Regions from separate parts of the Homo sapiens genome. Here all the other regions are linked to region 4. Evidence: promoter capture Hi-C in 16 types of primary human blood cells and fetal thymus (Javierre and others, 2016). All regions are on one chromosome and are shown on one strand. The core of a region is centred on a gene start or on the middle of the fragment in contact, and the rest is flanking DNA. Distances in the headings are between cores, read along the strand shown.

Evidence for each region. Contacts are between HindIII fragments. The CHiCAGO score rates a contact against its expected background, and 5 or more counts as called.
Region 1: a contact is called between a fragment that was not itself captured here and the fragment with the promoter of PHKA2 in region 4, in 1 of 17 cell types (naive B cells). The highest score is 5.1, in naive B cells.
Region 2: a contact is called between a fragment that was not itself captured here and the fragment with the promoter of PHKA2 in region 4, in 6 of 17 cell types (M1 macrophages, naive CD8 T cells, monocytes and 3 more). The highest score is 7.3, in M1 macrophages.
Region 3: a contact is called between a fragment that was not itself captured here and the fragment with the promoter of PHKA2 in region 4, in 1 of 17 cell types (naive CD8 T cells). The highest score is 5.1, in naive CD8 T cells.
Region 5: a fragment that was not itself captured here is called in contact with the fragment with the promoter of PHKA2 in region 4 in 4 of 17 cell types (neutrophils, total CD8 T cells, total B cells and 1 more); the score reaches 6.1 in neutrophils.

What each region holds. Positions count from the first base shown.
Region 1 is chrX:18,344,802-18,347,501 of GRCh38, forward strand. The region is part of intron 1 of SCML2 (Scm polycomb group protein like 2); the gene reads right to left. Among named protein-coding and RNA genes, the nearest start is that of SCML2, 8.5 kb to the right of the region's middle. The HindIII fragment of the contact is 2,162 bases long and covers 219-2,380 here.
Region 2 is chrX:18,401,198-18,403,897 of GRCh38, forward strand. No RefSeq gene overlaps it. Among named protein-coding and RNA genes, the nearest start is that of CDKL5, 23 kb to the right of the region's middle. The HindIII fragment of the contact is 3,599 bases long and covers 1-2,700 here.
Region 3 is chrX:18,377,823-18,380,522 of GRCh38, forward strand. No RefSeq gene overlaps it. Among named protein-coding and RNA genes, the nearest start is that of SCML2, 24 kb to the left of the region's middle. The HindIII fragment of the contact is 6,947 bases long and covers 1-2,700 here.
Region 4 is chrX:18,982,667-18,985,366 of GRCh38, forward strand. PHKA2 (phosphorylase kinase regulatory subunit alpha 2) reads right to left here and starts at 1,448. Exons shown (of 33, transcript NM_000292.3): 1 at 1,189-1,448. The coding sequence starts at 1,266. RefSeq lists enhancers at 1,250-1,750, 1,751-2,251, 2,233-2,282 and a silencer at 1,443-2,132. The HindIII fragment of the contact is 8,902 bases long and covers 1-2,700 here.
Region 5 is chrX:18,440,017-18,442,716 of GRCh38, forward strand. The region is part of intron 1 of CDKL5 (cyclin dependent kinase like 5); the gene reads left to right. Among named protein-coding and RNA genes, the nearest start is that of CDKL5, 16 kb to the left of the region's middle. RefSeq lists enhancers at 2,061-2,562, 2,563-2,700. The HindIII fragment of the contact is 3,075 bases long and covers 1-2,700 here.

The DNA of each region.
Region 1 (2,700 bases), core at 50-2,549, 640 kb before region 4:
ACTAATACAAGGAGATATTATAATATACCAGATACCCTAGACAAAACGGATCCATGAGGGCAGGAGAAAACAAAAGTTATGTTCCCAGAGATTCAATGATAATGGTGTTGGCAGTGGTGATACTACTACTCAGATCTGTTACTTACTGAGCTCTTGCTATTAATGAATGCCTGGTACCCTACCCTAAGGCTTTTATATATGTATTTTTTCTTATCTAAAGCTTATTACAAGCCTGCATAGTAGATACTGTTATTAATGTCCATTAATGTTCATTTGAAAGTTAAGGATATTGAGGCTCAAAGACCTGCCCAAGATCACCCAGCTAGGTTTGAATCTAGGTTCATGAATGCTTAACCATTGTGCTAAAACTGCCTTTGTTGTGTTTAACTGTGTAAGTGCCTTTTCTCCCGTGCTAGACAATAAGCTCCTGGGGGCAGTATCACATCTCGTTCTTCTTTATATCCTTCAGAATAACGAGCACAGTGTCTATCACATACTAGGGTCCCCAAAATGTTTGCTGAATGAGTAAACTCTGCTGTGCTATAGGCTGCTTGTATCTAAACTATATAGAACCAGAATACTGTGGTTTTTAAAAACAATTTTTTTTTTGAAACAGGGTCTCTCTGTCACCCAGGCTGGAGTGCAGTGGAGTGATCATAGCTCGCTACAACCTCAACCTCCCCGGGCTCAGGTGATCCTCCCACCTCACCCTCCCTAGTAGCTGGGACTACAGGCACACACCACCATACCTGGCTAATTTTTGTATTTTTTGTAGTGACAGAGTTTTTCCATGTTGCCCAGGCTGGTCTCAAACTCCTGGGCTCAATGAATCCTCTTGCCTCAGCCTCTCAAAGTGCTGGAATTAGAGGTGTAAGCCACCACACATGGACTAAAACAATTTTTTGATAAAATTTTTCTTTTATTCTTTGTTTTGAGACAGGGTCTCACTCTGTTGCCCAGGCTGGAGTTCAGTGGCATAATCAGGGCTCACTGCAGCCTGACCTCCCGGCCTTAAGTGATTGTCCTGCCTCAGCACACCCCCTGCACACCCCCTACCCCCGACACACACACACACAAAGTAGCTGGGACTATAGGCATGTGCCAACAAGCTCAGCAACTAATTTTTTTTTTTTTTTTAATTTTAGTAGAGACGATGGCTCACTAAGTTGCCCATACTGGTCTCAAACTCCTGAGCTCAAATGATCCTCCTGCCTCAGCCTCCCAAAGTGCCGGGATTACAGGCTCACGTAAGCCACGGCGCTCGGCCGAGATTTTTCTTTTGGCCATCATTGTTGTTCTCTGTTCTTTCCTGCAATATCAAATCAGCTGTCTTAATTTACACACAAGTCTAAGTCAATGGGCCAAGGAGAAAATTCTGTGAGATCTGAGACAATCCCCCACCTCCAATATCTCTCTCTTTCCCAGAAGTTGATTGGCCTTTTTTTTTTACTCTGAATTTTATCTCTTTCTAGGATGTTCATGGTCTCAAAAAGTCAGGCTCCGTATGAGTTACCATTATAGAATTCAGTTTATAAATGCCAACTACATAACAGGTATAACTAAAACATGTGCTTTAAACCAATATTCACCAAAAAAAGAAACAACAAGCCAAGTCCCTATTCACAAAATAATCTATTGAAAAAAATGTTTCATCATAGCCCCTTGAGTTTATCAACAGCATAAGAAGTTTCAAGGATAAGAGAGATTCACAAATACGTTTGCTGGTGTTTTAAAGAAAATGTTGGAATAAGTGACGGAAGTTATTATACATACACAATTTACCAGAGATTAATTAAATAGCACAGGTAGAAAGGGTTCTTTTCCTTTTAAAATCTATCTTGTTATAAAGACACTACTTTTAGACTTGAACAAACAAAAACGCTGTCCTTTATTGTGAAGGGGAAGGTCTGAGTTAACTGCATAAAATAACACCTTTATGTTTTTAACTTGTAAATAGTTTATTATTTTGTTTCAAGAAGTACTTCACATTTATGCCTAAATGCAAAAAAAAATACTGATTTAATTAAAATACACTGTAGTTATGTATTTTTTCTTTGACCAAGAGAAGCTCTCTCTTTCAACTAAGATTTTGTTTCTGGTAATAGTGATTATCCTAATACAGGATAGAAAAAGTGTATATTCCATTGTATAACCATACATAATTTTGTGGAATTGAACATGAGTCATCACATTAAGATTCCACAAGTATCTATTCAATTCACTCAAGTAAATAATCAAATGTCACATTTTCTGACATAGTTATAAAAGTAATCAGAAAAACACTAAATTCTAATACTGTAATTACATTTAAAACTAAAATTCTATCTCTGAATTAAGACTAATCAATATTAAGAAAGAACAAGCCGGGTGCGGTGGCTCAAGCTTGTAATCCCAGCACTTTGGGAGGCTGAGGCGGGTGAATCACCTGAGGTCAAGAGTTTGAGACCAGACTGGCCAACATGGTAAAACCCCGTCTCTACCAAAAATACAAAAATTAGCCGGGTGTGGTGGCGGGCACCTGTAGTCCCAGCTACCTGGCAGGCTGAGACAGGAGAATCGCTTGAATCTGGGAGGGGGAGGTTGCAGTGAGCCAAGATAGTGCCATTGCACCCCAGCCTGAGTGACAAGAGTAAAATTCCATTTCAAAAAAAAAAAAAGAACATTTTTAGGCCGGGCGCAGGGGCTCATGCCTGTAATCCC
Region 2 (2,700 bases), core at 177-2,676, 580 kb before region 4:
GGCATGTGATGAGCTATTCAGGCTTCACCTGGGCTGGTGCGTGGCTATCATTGGTGTCAGTGGCCTGCAACAGAGCCAGAACAGTGCAGAAATGGTGGTGTTAGGTGATGTGTTCACATGGATATTGAACTCACAAGGGCCTGCCTGTGAATCACCATGTGCGGACTTTATAATATCAGCTGACACTTACTTACGGTGTGCCAGGCACCATTCTAAATCCTTCACATGTGTTAAACCACTCAATTCTCTCAACAAGCCCAAGAGGTAAGTGTGATTAGTATTCCCCATTTTGTAGATGGGTAAACTGAGGAAGGCAGCACTTAAGTAAGTTGCCCAAGGTCACACAGCTGGGAAGCGGATGAGCCAGAATTTGAATGTAAGCGGTCCGGTGCCAGAGTCCATGCTCTTAACCACTGTACTGCCTTTATACAAGCAGATGCCTGAGTCCAACCAGGATGATGGTCCTGGATCCTTCTCATTTGTCCCTGTCCTGTTTTTTTGTCTGAGTTTGGTCTCCCTCTGTGTGTTAACTCTTAGCTTTGCAAAAAAATATTGATCTTGTCTCCGGCCTTTGGAACACATGTTTGTATTTGGTCTTTCCAGTGGAGTCTCAGGTGGCCTCTGACTAGATTTGTCTCTCTGGGTCATCATAACCCACATTGCTCCAACCAGCATCCTGGGTCCGACTGCAGACACTCTTACTCTGAAACCGGCTTGCTCTCCTTTGATTCCAGCCTCCCAAGGCCCTATCCTTGACCTCCCATCTCTGGGGTTAGCTGGGTCGAGTAAACCCCCAGTGGGGAGGCCCAAGTGCATAGCAGCTCAGGGATCAGACCCTTGCCCCACCATGACCCCCTCTGATGGCTGATACAGGGAAGATTTGGAGACCTGGGGACTTGCTGTCCTGGCAGACACAGGTTTCAGCTGAGGCCAGGGGATGGAGGTAGGGAGACAGCAAGAAATTCGGTTTAGAATGCAGGGGAACTGGCCTCATCAGGCACCATAGGATGGCCTCAGGGATGAGGGGAGGGGGCAGGCTAAGTGAAGTGGGGTCAGGAATGAAAGCACAAGTGGTGACAGTGGGAAGGAAAAGCCGAGCCAGAGAGCCCCATTGCTAAGGAAAGCTGCGGTGATCGCGAGAGCCCTCTGCCCGCTGGAGTCCTGCTTGGGTGTGAGAGGGACCTGGGGTTCACTGTTCAGTCGCTTCTGCTGGACACAAGCCTTTTAGTCTCTCAAACAGAGGTTGTAACTCTTGTGAGTCCTGGCCTCTGAAAATCTGGTGAAAAACATGGACCATCCCCTAAGACAGTCGTAGGAGTGCACACAACCAATCCACATTCTGCATGTAATGTGGGTGAGCCATAGCTCCCTCTGGAAATAAACCCTGGATCTCAGGGTAAGAATTCCTGCTCTAGAACTTTTAACATCACCCCCATTCTTTTTTTGTTTTGTTTTGTTTGTTTTTGAGACAGAGTGTCACTCTGTCGCCCATACTGGAGTGCGGTGGTGCGATTTCCGCTCACTGCAACCTCTGCCTCCCGGGTTCAAGTGATTCTCTTGCCTCAGCCTCCCTAGTAGCTGCGATTACAGGTGCGCACCACCACGCCTGGCTAATTTTTGTATTCTTAGTAGAGACAGGGTTTTGCCATGTTGGCCAGGCTGGTCTTGAACTCCTGGCCTCCAGTGATCCACCCACCTCAGCCTCCCAAAGTGCTGGGATTACAGCCATGAGCCACCACACCCAGCCTCAGGTAGTTCTTTATAGCAACGCAAGAACAGACTAATACACAAAGTGATGCATCTACAAGCCAAGTAATGCCAAGGATTGCCAGCAAACCACCAGAAGCTGAGGAAGAGGCTCTCACAGCCCTCAGAAGGAGCCAACCCTGCGGACACCTTGTTCTCACACTTCTGGCCTCCAGAACTTCGAGATAATAAATGTCTGTTATTAAACTGCCCAGATTGTGGCACTTTGTTGCAACAGACTGAGCAGATGAATACAGTGGAGGAGCGCCTGTGGTTCTTGTTTGGGCACAGAGCTGTGAGTGCATACACTGGCTACTGCATCATACGAGGAAATGGAGAGAAGGCAGGAGGGAGGGAACATGAAGTACACTGAGGCCCAGGTCTAGAGGCCAGCTGGTTGTGGGCTAAAGGCGGCAGCAGACAGATTTGCTTGGTTTTAGGATTGAGCAGGTGTCAGAGCTGGGAAGTGCTGAGAAATGAGGTCACAGAGTGAAACAGGCAACAGCTCAAAGAAAATCAGATGAGGGCGGGGTGTGGTGGCTCACACCTGTAATCCCAGTACTTTGGGAGGCCGAGATGGGGTGGATCACTTGAGCTCAGGAATTTGAGACCAGCCTGGGCAACATGGTGAAACCCCGTCTCTACTAAAAGCATAAAAAGTAGCCAGGTATAGGTGGCTCATGCCTGTAATCCCAGCTACTAGGGAGGCTGAGGCACAAGAATTGCTGGAACCCAGGAGGCGGAGATTACAGTGAGTCAAGATTGCACCACTACACTCCAGCCTGGGTGACAGAGCGAGACCCTGTTTCAAGGAAAAGAAAAGAAAATCAGATGAGGTTTAGGTGGATTTGGTCATGGAAAGAAAGGCCTTGGGGCGAGGGAGGCTTGGATGCCACGAGTAATCTCTTCAGCCCTCACCTCCGTACAAACAACTTTAAATCAATATACAATCGC
Region 3 (2,700 bases), core at 67-2,566, 600 kb before region 4:
ATTTTGCAGCTTCTGCAGGAAGCCACCACCCATCACCACAGTGAGGAGGAAACTCACCGGATGCCTGCACAGGGAATGCCACGGGGCCAGTGCTACACTGCGCCCATCAAGTGAGTCCCAGCAGTGAGGAGAAACAAAGCAGCAAACAGGAAGCAGAAAAGTCCTTCAGTGCCCCCTATTGGCAGAGTATAACATGGAGCCGGCTGCCAAAACACAAAATGTAGGTTGCGCAGGTGCAGCTCCAGTATTACAAAGTAGGGAAAAGACTGACAATATCAGGTTCTGATAATGTGGAGCATAGGAACTGTCATATGCCTCGGGTGGGAGTGTAAATTAGTACAACTACTTTGGAAAACAATTTGGCATTATCTTTTTTAAACAACTTTTTAGGCCAGGTGCAGTGGCTCATGCCTGTAATCCCAGCACTTTGGGAGGCTGAGGCAGGCAAATCACCTGAGGTCAGGAGTTCGAGACCAGCCTGGCCAGCATATAGTGAAACCCCATCTCTGCTAAAAAATACAAAAATTAGCCGAGTGTGGTGGCACACACCTGTAGTCCCAGCTACTTGGGAAGCTGAGGCAGGAGAATTGCTTGAACCTGGGAGGCAGAGGTTGTAGTAAGCTGAGATTGCGCCACTGCATTCCAGCCTAAGTGACAGAGCAACACTCTGTCTCTAAAAAAAAAAAAAAAAAAATTTAAACAACTTTTTTGCCTGGAAGTCTCACACCCAAGTAACTGGATATGAGCTCAGTTTGGCATTATCTAATAAAGTTGAAGAGAGCATAGCCTGTGGGCAGTTCTACCCTATGTCTATGCCCCAGAGAAACATGTGTATGCACATTGTACATCAAGGTAAGTGTTTAAGAATCTTTCCAGGTGCAGTGGCTCATGCCTGTAATCCCAGCACTTTGGGAGGCCAAGGTGGGTGGATCGCTTGAGTCCAGGAGTTCGAGACCAGCCTGGGCAACATAGGGAGACTCTGTCTCTATTTTAAAAATACAAAAAATTAACTGGGTGTGGTGTCACATACCTGTAGTCCGAGCTACTCAGGAGGCTGAGGGAGGATCACCTGAGCCCAGGAGGTTGAGGCCACAATGAGCTGTGATAGCACAACTGCACTCCCACCTAGGCAACAGAACGAGACCCTGTCTCTAAAAAACAAAAAAAACTTCATAACGGCATAATTTATAATAACCCCAAATGGAAAACCCGAAGTCCATCTATAGTAAAACGCAAATTAAATTGTGGCATACTCGTTCAATAGAATGAATACTCTATAGAATGAAAATACACAACTATACATTGAGACATGGATGATACCTCAAAATCATAATGTTCAGCAAAAGGAGAGAGAGAGAGAACGAATCCAAAGGGTAAGACTCCATCCCATCCATACAATACTCAAATCCAGGATGCACACCTCAGTGTAAAACAAAAACAAACACATGTGAAAAACAAGAACTGGATTTATTATGAGTTAGGAGTTACCTCTGGGGAGGAGGTTAAGAGTCATGATCCAGGAGGTTACTTACATGTGGGGGAGTTCTGTAATATTCTGTTTTGTTGACATAGGTGACTTACATTAGATTGTTTCTTCCTTTAAAATAAAAAGTACATATGTTTAGTATGCATTTTTGTACATAGGTTATGTTTTGTAAGTTTTTGTGTGGTTTTTTTGTTTTGTTTTTTTTGAGACAGAATCTCACTCTACTGCCCAGGCTAGAGTGCAATGGCGAGATCTCAGCTCACCGCAACCTCTGCCTCTCGGGTTCAAGCAATTCTCCTGCCTCGGCCTCCCAAGTAGCTGGGATTACAGGTGGCTGCCACCACGCCAGGCTAATTTTTGTATTTTTAGTAGAGATGGGGTTTCACCATGTTAGCCAGGCTGGTCTCAAACTCCTGACCTCAGGTGATCCACCTGCCTCAGCCTCACGAAGTGCTGGGATTATAGATGTGAGATTACAGGGGTGAATCATATATCAATTTTTTAAATAAAATTTCAAAAGGAATGAATAGTATGAAAACAAATCATGTTAACTGAGTTTTAGGTAAAGATGACTACTTGTCAGAACCTAGGGGGCCGGGCATGGTGGCTCCATCTGTAATCCCAGCACTTTGGGAGGTGAAGGTGGGTGGATCACCTGAGGTCAAGGAGTTCAAGACCAGTCTGGCCAACATGGGGAAACCCTGTCTCTACTAAAAATACAAAAATTAGCTGAGCGTGGTGGTGCGTGCCTGTAATCCCAGCTACTCGGGAGGCTGAGACACAAGAATTGCTTGAACGTGGGAGGTGGAGGTTGCAGTGAGCCAAGATCACACCACTGCACTCCATCCTGGGCGACAGAGTGAGACTCTGTCTCAAAAAAAAAAAAAAAAAAGAGTAGACTATATTTGTGTGAGTCAATTTCTGAGCTCTCTATTCCATTCCATTGATCTATTTGTCTATTCTTATGCGAATACCACACTGTCTTGATTACTGTAGCTTTTTAGTAGATCTTGAAGTCAGGTAGTGTCAGTCCTCTAACACTGATCTTCAGTATTGTGGTGGCTATTCTGGGTCTTTTGCCCCTCCGTATAAACTTTAGAAGCAATTTGCTGATATCCACACAATAACTGACTGGGAATTTGATTAGGATTGTGTTGAATCTATAGATCAAATTGGGGAGAACTGACATCTTGATAATATTGAGTTTTCCTGTC
Region 4 (2,700 bases), core at 198-2,697:
CTACTAAAAATGCAAAAATTAGCTGGGTGTGGTGGCGCACGCCTGTAGTCCCAGCTACTCGGGAGGCTGAGGCAGGATAATCGCTTGAACCCGAGAGGCAGAGGTTTCAGTGAGCCGAGATCGCGCCACTGCACTCCAGCCTAGGAGACAGAGTGAGACCCTGTCTCAAAAACAAACAAACAACAACAAAGAAAACAGATTAAGGGACTTTGGACCTATACCTTATGCATAAATGTTACTGCACTACGATCATTTATTCTTGTAACCCCAGCACTTTGTAGAGTGCTTTGCATATAACAGATACACCACAAATATTTCCTAAGTGAGGAAACAAGGCTAAGAAATTAGTTAAGAAGGGAAAATGGTCAGTGCCTTGGAAATGACCATGGCTCCCAACTTGCAGGTCAGGCCTCTAACCCCTGAATGCCACTTCCTTCGTTGACTTTGAAGGCCCTATAAATAGTTGCTGTTGATTGAGGGCAAGAAACATAGCTGCTGTCTTCACTAGGAATAAAAATAGTTCAGTGGTCTTACACTGATGGACCCACACATAATTTTAGCCCAGGAATACAAAGCATAGCAGGCAAATTCATACCTCGGACCACATGGGCAGTGTCATAGGACCCTGTGAGCTTGGGAGCCTTTGGGTCTGACCTGCTACATGCAGTGACCTTTCTAGCCTCACAATTTTCTTATCTGTAAAATAGCAACCAAAGTAGCCCCTAAGGGCTTCCCAGGTGGGTCTCTACCAAGACAGCTCATGGGAGGGACGGTAGCTGTCGCCCCACACTGCAGAGTCCTGCGTAAACTTCAGGAGCTTCTTCACTCCTGTCTACTGTTCTCATTCAGTGTAGTCTGTCCAAACCCCCCACACCTCTTCTCGTCCAAAAAAAGCAGAGTCAATGCAAAAAGAGGCAGTTTGGACCCGGGCACGGAGGCGGCTCATTCTCATCCTGAACAATGGCCAAAGAATTCTGTGAAAAGTAGCCGTAGCAACAGTTAGGTCCCCTGAATCTTAAGGAGCACGGGGTGGCAATGGGGTGGTAATCACTGGCTAGCAAGGACTAGATTCAAATAGCAAACTCTTAATTGCAAGGTCTCAGGTCACAAGAGGGCCAGACCTGGGAAGGAGAATGAGTTACATGAGAGGGTAGTTCCACGCGTTCCCTGGGGGCGGTCCCTCCTTACCTGGTAACACAGGATGGTTTGCTGCACCAGCCGCGCGTACCCGTCCAAGCGGACCCCGGAATTGCTCCTGCTCCGCATCTCCCCGAGGCTCCCAGGCCGCAGCGCCCGATCTGCCGCGTGGGCGCGGGACGTCGGGGCTGTGGCCTCCAAGCGGGTCTGGTTCCCGGACACTCACAGCCTTAGTCGGTTCTTGGGATGGGACCGGGCCGGAGGAGGTCGAGACTTTTCTAAACGCTAGCCCCAAAGTCCGGTTGGAAAGCAAGCCAACCAGAGCTCCGCGCGGCGGGGAGGCGCGGGGGCGGGGACGGGGGCTGGAGCGACGAAGGTCCCGCCTCGGCCAGGCCTGCTGGGCTCCCGACGCTCGCGGGAGCAGCGGGAAACCAGGTTCCGGGAGTGGGGCGAGGACGCCCCTGCCAAGCCCCTTTTACGTCCCGGCGGTCGCGAGGAGGTCCCCCGGGCGCGAAGAAGACGCCAGCCCACCCCAGCCGCCGGGGAGATCGCCCAGGCCGCGCTCAGCCCCGCCCCTGGCTCTGCCCCCGCCGCGGAGCGGAACCCTCCAAGTCGCGGCCTGAGGAGGAAGGAAAAGGGGGCGGCCCGGGAGAGCCGCTGCGAAATCAGCAACGGGCGGGAACCAGGTTGCCTCCCTGAGTCCCTTCTCTCCCCGGCCGGCTGCCAACCACAGCCAAGGCCAGAGAAACAGGCCCTTCTGCCGCGGCCACCTGGGCGCCTTGGACCCGCCCTCCGGACTCGCCCCCGCCCCTGCCGCGGAGTGGAACGTTTGGAACCCTGAGGGGCACAGGTAAGGGGGCGGCCCCGCCCCGCGCCCTGGAACGACCTCACGGCCCCGCCCACATCCCCGCCCCTGGCCCCACCTCCGCCGCAGAGCGGAACCCTCAGAGTCGCGGCCTCGGGGGGGACGAAAAAGGAGGCGGCCCGTGGGAGTCTAGGGGAACCCGGCTTCGGGCGGCGGACGAGTTGGCTTTCCTGCGTGGTAGTGTGGAGCCCCCCGAGACGGGTGCCAGTCCCACTCGAGGCCGGAGAAAGAGGGCCGCCTACCGCGGCCGCCTGGGCACCCCTCTGAGGGCCAAGATTGTAGTCCCACCTCTGGCCCCGTCTCCGCCGCCTAGCGGAACTGGAGTAGCGGGACCCAGCCCGGAAGAAAAAGGGGGAAGGCCCGGAGAGGTGCCCCAGCGACACCTCTGGCGCCTGTGACCCCGCCCCTAGCCACTTGGGCGCCGCTTCCTCGGGCAGGTTCGCAGTTCATCTCCCACGGGTCTACAGCTTGAAACTTGGCATTCATTATAATGTTTCGTGGCTGCTGATAACCTACAGTTCACAATCTTCGGCCTGGTATTCATTGTCCACCAAAATCTGGCCCACATAGGAATTTACTGGACAGCTAGACTAATGCAATCAATTTCCGCAAGCTCTTTTCCAGTCTCCATGCATTTACTCTATGCTTGACCCCTTCGGCCCTTCTTCCTCCTCCTTGACTAACTGAAGCCTATCTTT
Region 5 (2,700 bases), core at 124-2,623, 540 kb before region 4:
TAGTATTGATGGTGACTGACTGATCAGGATGGTGGTTGCTGAAGGTTGGGGGATCTGTGGCAGTTTCTTAAAATAGGACAGCAATGAAGTTTGCCATATCTGTTGACTGTTCCTTTCATTGTAGGTTCTTCTGTAGCATACGATGCTGTTTGATAGCGTTTTACCCACATTAGAACTATTTCTCCAAGCCTGCTGCTGCTTTATCAACTAAGTTTATAGAGTAGTGTATTTTTGAAATAGTCATTTCAAAAATGTTTAAGGCATCTTTACCAGTAGATTTCATCTCAGAAAAACAGTTCCTTTGTTCTTCCATAAGCAGCAACTCCTTTGTCCATTCATGTTTTATCATGAGATCACAGCAATTCAGTCATATCTTCAGGCTCCTCTTGCCTTGGCCTCCCAAAGTGGTAGGATTGTAGGTGTGAACCACTGCACCTGGCCATATCATTTTTTTGTGTGTGTTTTGGGTTTTTTTAGACGGAGTTTTGCTCTTGTTGCCCAGACTGTAGCACAATGGCACTATCTTGGCTCACTGCAACCTCTGCCTCCCGGGTTCAAGCAATTCTCCTGCCTCAGCCTCCCAAGTAGCTGAGATTACAGGCATGTGCCACCACACCTAGGTAATTTTGTATTTTTAGTAGAGACGGCGTTTCACTGTGTTGGTCAGGCTGGTCTCGAACTCCTGACCTCAGGTGATCCACCCACTTCAGCCTCCATATAATCTTTGTGTCTTTAAATGGGTATGTCTTTCCTTCTGCTAGGCCGTTAGTGCTGGTATTTGAGTTAATCTAGTTAGGAATTGGTGTAGCCAAGTCCAAGGTTGTACTACTCACCAAATGACAGCCAATAAGTTAAGAGACAAGGTGTTGGCGCAAAGAAAGCAACCTTATTTGGAGAGCCAGCAACCTGAGAAGATGGTGGACTAGTAATGTCCGAAAGAACCATCTTAATATGAATTTTCGCCTCCTTTTATGTTAGAGGAAGAGGGAAGAGGGAGGAGGTTGAGGTCAAGAGATGACTATGATGACCACAGACATCTAGGTGGCAGTGAGGGTCTGTGGAGGTTGTGAAACTTCTTTGTCCTTGGTCAGGTCACAATACTATAAATCTTTAACATGGCTGGGCATGGTGGCTCACTCCTGTAATCCTAGCACTTTGGGAAGCCGAGTCAGGCAGATAACTTGAGTCTAGGAGTTCAAGACCAGCCTGGGCAACATGGTGAAACACCGTCTCTATCAAAAATACAAAAATTAGCTGGGTGTGGTGGCACACACCTGTAGTCCCGCTACTCAGGAGGCTGAGGTGGGAGGATCACCTGAGCCCAGGAGGTCGAGGCTGCAGTGAGCCATGATTGCACCACTGCACTCTAGCCTGGGTGACAGAGTGAGACCCTGTCTCAAAAAAAAAAATCATTAACAACGTTGTTACTTGTGTGTACACTGCCCCTATCTCTTCAGGGGTTTTCAGAAGGGACTATTTGCTTTAAACTATAAACTGAATTTCTCCCATAGTTAGATGGTTTCACTGGGTGGTGGTGGGGGGGCTTAGAAGCAAAATGATGTTAGTCATGCTAGGCTTCCTTTTCACTGTTACATTGGGCTGGATTTGAGTTTTTTTGTGTTGTTATGGTTAACCTAGTGTACCCCAGTTTTCAAATTCTCTTAGAGATACTTTGTGATCAGGGTGGGAATTGGTTTACCAGAACAGTGTCTGTTCCAGTCTAAATTTCAGGTCTCCCCTTCGAAGTGTGCTTTAGTGAGGGTCTCTTTACATACTCTTGATTTTCTCCCGTCCCTTTCTCAGTGATATTCTGCTCTTACTGTTCCTGGAAGTTTGTTTGCTTGGAGGTGGGGAGGGGTGATAGGATGTGGTCTCTGTTCTTGATTAAGCCTCAGTTTCAGGCCTGACTCTCAGGATCTTGCCCCTTCCCTGGCTGTTGTATTGGGCTCAATGTGGAATCCTACCCCTCTCCCAGGACTTGGGCCCCCACCCCTCCTCCCTGCTGCTCTGATTTTTCACTATTGTCTTAAGGGTAGAAGTAACCATTGTCCTTTCTGTCACAGTGAAGGCTTGTCTTCCTGAGTGGAGATAGGGGAGAGTGATCTGAGGGTAGTGTCCAGCCTCTCAGGCTTAGCTGCTGCCCACCCCCAGGTTTGCATCACAATGAGCCTACCTCAGGACTCTTTAGAGCTCTGAGTGAGTGGGGTGGGGGAGTTGGAGGAGGAAGACCCTACAGGAAGTTGAGGTATCATATCCTCAATTTCTGTGACCCCCAGTGGTTTCACACTATCTTTTCAGCAAGCCACATTGGATTTCACGCATTTACTGACTCTTCTACCCGTTCTTTTTGGTGTCCAGCTGTACTCTCCAACAGGCGAGCACATGGTCGTCTCCTCTCTCCCTTCAGGTACTCTCCTTAGTTTTTGAGCCAACTGGTTGCTCTGTTGGTTTTTTTGTTTTGTTTTGTTTTGTTTTGTTTTGTTTTGTTTTGTTTTGAGGCGGAGTTTCGCTCTTTCGCCCAGGCTGAAGTGCTGTGGCGCGATCTCGGCTCACTGCAAGCTCCGCCTCCCGGGTTCACGCCATTCTCCTGCCTCAGCCTCCCGAGTAGCTGGGACTACAGGTGCCCGCCTCCACGCCCGGCTACTTTTTTTGTATTTTTGGTAGAGACGGGGTTTCACCATGTTAGCCAGGATGATCTCA